Linked DNA regions of Homo sapiens: region 2 is linked to region 1. The links are contacts of gene promoters, found by promoter capture Hi-C in human tissues and cell types (Jung and others, 2019). All regions are on one chromosome and are shown on one strand. The core of a region is centred on a gene start or on the middle of the fragment in contact, and the rest is flanking DNA. Distances in the headings are between cores, read along the strand shown.

Region 1 (2,674 bases), core at 49-2,548:
CCACTTTCTCCATTTAAAACATTAGGATTTGTATTTTTCTGCTGCGTTTGTATGAAGACATATTTGATTGTTGTTTTCTCTTGATTTTAAAATAAAACCTCATGAGCCCTAGTAAAAAGCTAGAGTAACGAATGTTTGAACTACTGATGGTGTATCTCAATGTGCAGCCTCCTGCCACCTCCTGCTTAACCTTTTAGCAATTAGAGTGCCCATATCTAGAGTTCCTGATATCCTTTGGCATCACACTATCTAGTTTTAGTACTAACACTGTTTGATTGCTCCAGTCCCTCTACTCCCCTTTGCCTATTAGTTTTAATAATGGGGCATAATTTGTCTTGGTTTGGTTTTGTTGAGTAACTCAGTTTTACCTAAAGGACTGTTTTTGGTCCGGCGCGGCGGCTCACGCCTGTAATCGCGGTACTTTGGCAGGCCGAGGTGGGCGGATCACCTGAGGTCAGGAGTGGGAGACCAGCCTGACCGACATGGAGACACCCCGTCTCTACTAAAAATACAAAATTAGCCGCGCGTGGTGGCGCATGCCTGTAATCCCAGCTACTGGAGAGGCTGAGGCAGGAGAATCGCTTGAGCCTGGAAGGCGGTGGTTGTGGTGAAACGTCGTCCTTTGCATTTCCAGTTCCCTCTAATGGAGCTGCACTCTTGCATGCTTTTGCTCACATCTTCTGGACTTTTTTTTTAAGTAGTGAGTAATACTGCACTTTTGAAACTTGCTCGGGCTTTTACAAATAGGTGGAAACTACCAGTGATTCGGAATGTTGCAAGAGGAAACTACCAGCTCACTAGACGATTCTGACCAATTATGGGGCTGGATACAAGGAATAAGGTCAAAGTAAAACGGCTGACATTAAAATAGCGTGGCTACTTAGAGTTTATCAAAGTCGAAATTTAAAAAATAATTTAAAAAAAAGGTCTCTGTACTGCCAGGCGGGCGACAGGGACTGGCCAGCTGCGCCGCACTCGCCTGCCAGATTCCCCTTTTCTCGGGGTAGCCGGAAGGGCCTGCCTTCAGCGGGTGCTGTGCAGGAAACCAATAGCCGCCTCTTGGACGGGCTCCTGTCAGTCACGCTTAGCTCCGCCCCCAGGATTAAGGCCCGCCCAGGGGCTTCCCTCCGCCCTTCGCTTGAGAATTCCTTTTAAATACCGCTCTGGCGCCCGAGCGCGCCTCTTGCGTGCTCGTCCCCACGCCCTCGGGCGGCCGGTTCTTCCTTCTCTGATTGGCCAGGGCCCCTGCTCATCAGTCGTGATGCACAAGGTCTCTTACCGAGGCCCCGCCTTCTTCCGAGAGGCCCGAAAACAATTTTAAGATGGCGGCCGCGGCGGTAGCGCGGAAAACAATGGGGCCGGGGCGGTGGGGAGAGGCCGAGGCTTGAGGTAGGCAGCAAGCGCCGGCTGGGGGTCGGGCCGAGCGGGGCAGGAGGAAAACCCGCCGCCGCGCGCGAGCCCGCTCCGCTGCCCTCGGGGGCATGGCGCGGCCGTGAGGCGGAGAGGGGTAGCCGCGGGGAGCGAAGCCCGCAGTGCCAGCCGGCCCCGAGAGGCCCGGCCCCGGGCCCGGCCCGTGCAGCCCGCGGCCCATGGTGCTGCCCACCTGCCCCATGGCGGAGTTCGCGCTGCCGCGGCACAGCGCGGTCATGGAGCGCCTTCGCCGGCGCATCGAGCTGTGCCGGCGCCACCACAGCACCTGCGAGGCCCGCTACGAGGCCGTGTCGCCCGAGCGCCTGGAGCTGGAGCGCCAACACACCTTCGCCCTGCACCAGCGCTGCATCCAGGCCAAGGCCAAGCGCGCCGGGAAGCACAGGCAGCCGCCCGCCGCCACGGCCCCGGCGCCCGCCGCCCCGGCCCCGCGCCTGGACGCCGCTGACGGCCCCGAGCACGGCCGCCCGGCCACGGTGAGTAGGGCGCGGGAAGGCGCTTGTCGTGGCGGCAGCCCCCTCTCCCGAAAACGCTTCCTCTGACGCGGATCGGGCCGCTGGGAGACTTCCCCAGGCGTCCGCGACTCCTGGATCTGGCTGGAGAGAGGGTAACATGGCAGGGAGCTGAGAGGTTGTCATCTTTGGGAAGTGGCACGGTGGCGTTACTTTGGGAAAACAGCGCCTTGAGGGCCTTGCAGGAGGCCCGACCTGGGAAGGCTGGCGAACGCTAACCGGAGGGTTTTTCTTCCAGACTTGATTCCGGGATGTTGAGATCTTTATTCGAAATAGACTAGCATTCGAGTCGCCTGTGATGGAGGGAGTTCCTGCACCGTAGGCCTGGCCTCATTTATTCTGCAAATGTTTATTGGGTCCTTGCCCTTTACAAGATCCTGTGCTGTGAGCAGGATCAGGGCTTTCATGTGGAAATAAGTCGGCCTTTGGTTGACCAACTGAAACTCCTCTGAATGGAAAATCAAGAAATTTTTGGAAAACTTAGTAAAATGTTCAATGAGTTGCATATAAGTATTCCTTGTTTAGGTAGCCTGAACTTTGTGAACTTGAGATTCCTGCAATATTGTTGACAATTCTAGTTTTAATTTATCAGGCCTGTTTAAAATCTCTGATGATGTTAGATTGTTGGTCAATTATTACTCCCTTTGGGCTCTCAGTAAATGTTCCTGAAATTTGTTGGTTAGAGGTTTTTCTTCCTGAAACAGATTTACAAAAGAGACAAGGTTTTTCAGTGG
Region 2 (2,674 bases), core at 73-2,572, 580 kb after region 1:
CGCAGTCGGTCTCGCGAGAGATGGAGCTGCCCACGGTGTTGGTGACGCCCACGGTGAGAGCGCCGCGGTCCTTACAGTAGCGCAGCGCCAGGAGGGTGTCCGCGGTCTCGCCTGCCGCCCAGGGGCCCTCTCAGTGCCGCGCTCCGCCAGCCTCGGCCCCACCCCAAACCCCTTCCTCCTTCACCGCCGGCTCTTACAGGGAAATCGGCGCCCGAGACACAGCCAGCGGGTGTTCAGAAAGGAAAACGCTCGCTCAACAGCCTTTTCGGTTGATTCTTACATTCAAGGTGTGTTACTATTTGTGGCAAGCATCTTTTCATTTAAATCTCGTGACAACCCCGTGAGGACCATCGTCCCCATTTTCCTCTTGAGGATGAGGGCTCAGAGACAGGAGGAAACCGGTGCTCTGATCAAAGCCATACAGCTGGTGACAGGTGGGCTTGGCTCCCAGCGCCCTCTCTGCAACTGAATAAGCTGCCTTATTCAGAACGTGCTGAGATGGAACAGATTTAACATCTGACAAGCAGGAATGTCCCCAAGTGGTGTTTCTCAGCTAGATCCTGTTTGAAAGGACACTTCTTGCAAGCCTCTCAGTGTGGACTCAAATTGTTTTTAGAATAAAGCTAAACAGCTTCATGCATAAACCAGCACAAGCTCCCTATGTTTGTGAGTCCTAAAGCACTCAAATTAAATTCAGCATAAGCCAGACTATAAAATCAAAACTGTTGAAATCCTCATGAGTCGGGAGGCTGTTCTGTTTGCAGGGCCACTGCTCTTGGCTGTGTCTGTCCCAGCTTTGCAGGGCAGGCAGGTGCCGCCCGGTGCTAGGTGGCCCAATTCTCCTCTGCTTTTCTTTCTTCAGAGCCCTGGGTTATGGCACTGGAGTGTCACGGGGTACTGCGGTGAGGGTGCGGGAAAGGGGGTTCTAACTTCTGTCACCCGCGCCCTAGGGTTCGATAGTGTTTTTTCAATCTCATTAAAGGGCTGACTTCTATACACACAGAGATTCGGAAGCTGCCACTGCATTATTTTCATATTAGCTCCACCTCTGTTCTTTTGTTAATGTCTCCCACCAATTTATAAAATAGTCTGAGGCTCTGGTGGGATCAGAAACCCAAAGGTGAACACGGCAGCAGCTCCTGCGTCATAAGGTGGTGGGCCGGATGGTCGGTGTATCTGTACTGGTTTTTCTTCACTTGTCAACAAAATGGAAATGGTATTTAAAATGGAAAATGGCAGGAGTACTAAAAGTCCTAATAGATGATAGGGCATTACAATCAGTATTTTAGTTGTGGTAGTAACACCGTGGTCATACGTTTTTCTTTTTCTTTTTTTTTTTTTTGAGACGGAGTCTCGCTCTGTCGCCCAGGCTGGAGTGCAGTGGCGCGATCTCAGCTCACTGCAAGCTCCGCCTCCCGGGTTCACGCCATTCTCCTGCCTCAGCCTCCTGAGTAGCCGGGACTACAGGCGCCCGCCACCACGCCCGGCTAATTGTTTTATATTTTTAGTAGAGACGGGGTTTCACTGTGTGAGCCAGGATGGCCTCAATCTCCTGACCTCGTGATCCGCCCACCTCAGCCTCCCAAAGTGCTGGGATTACAGGCGTGAGCCACCGCGCCCGGCCGGTTATATGTTTTTCTTTTGTCATTTTAATCATGCAGCCTGAAGTATTTATATGGATGAATATCATGATGCCCGGGATTGGCTTCAAAGTAACCCCATGGAGACGAGGGGTTAATATGAGTGTGTCCGACCGGCACAAGATGGGCTGGATAAGGCTAGGATATTCATTATATGAAAATTCTACTTTTATAAAGGCTTGGAATTATCCGTAATTAAAACATTTCAAAAATCTTCCACGAGCTCAAGGAGACTCCAAGCCTATGGCCCTGGATCACCTCCCTGAGACAGCTGGAGCAAATGTCAAGCCCAGTGTTGGGATGGCACCAGATGGGGTGCATGTAGCTTGGGAGACCTTCCTTGGCCCTAAAAGGGAGCACTGTCTCCCCCACACCTCCCCCTGCTGGGCAGCATGGGCACTGCATGCCACAGGCAGCTCGGCTTGGACACTTGGGCACAGAGCCCATACTGGGTCCTCCACGTGACTCTCAACCTAACAAAATGTTAAAGGAGATGCTTTTTCTATTAACATAAATCAGCAAACATTTATGAGCACTTCGGTAAGTGGTCCTTGAAGTCTTGGATAGGCAAGAAGAGGGAGAAGCCACGGGGCAGGGGAAAGACTAACGTGCGTGGATTTCCAGCCCAATCCCAGCTGTCACCCCCTGACTGCATGGCCTTAGACATCTCTTGCCCTCCCCGTACAATGGCGACAGTAATCCATGGCTCTACGGGTTAAATGACCGCTGCAAGAGAGGGTTCGCAGCACAGGGTAGCCATGCAGAGGACTTAACTGAATGAAGGAGAAGAGGAGAGAGCCCAGAGCTGACCTGATGCAAGGCTGGCCACAATGCCTGTGTCCCTTACCTGACTGGCTGATGAAAAAGCAAACGTCATCCCTGAACACAGGTGTGTTCCTGTCCAGAAAATCACTAGCAAGTTCAACCATCACAGGAAGCTCAGTCAGTTCCTCCAAAACTTGCCGCGTCTGAAGCCAACAAGCAAGCATGGAGACTAAAGTCAGTCACAGGCACGACAGGGACATGGGGCAGCT

Evidence for each region. Contacts are between HindIII fragments. The study calls those that stand out against the background at their distance.
Region 2: a contact is called between a fragment that was not itself captured here and the fragment with the promoter of MAML1 in region 1, in 1 of the 25 tissues and cell types used here (hippocampus).

What each region holds. Positions count from the first base shown.
Region 1 is chr5:179,731,524-179,734,197 of GRCh38, forward strand. It overlaps MAML1 (mastermind like transcriptional coactivator 1), which reads left to right and starts at 1,299. Exons shown (of 5, transcript NM_014757.5): 1 at 1,299-1,904. The coding sequence starts at 1,590. CANX (calnexin) reads left to right here. Exons shown (of 15, transcript NM_001746.4): 15 at 1-118. RefSeq lists enhancers at 842-941, 1,703-2,203 and silencers at 1,392-1,591, 1,832-1,891. The HindIII fragment of the contact is 20,196 bases long and covers 1-2,674 here.
Region 2 is chr5:180,313,854-180,316,527 of GRCh38, forward strand. It overlaps GFPT2 (glutamine-fructose-6-phosphate transaminase 2), which reads right to left. Exons shown (of 19, transcript NM_005110.4): 13 at 2,488-2,608; 14 at 1-111. Among named protein-coding and RNA genes, the nearest start is that of MAPK9, 23 kb to the left of the region's middle. RefSeq lists an enhancer at 1-190. The HindIII fragment of the contact is 6,418 bases long and covers 1-2,674 here.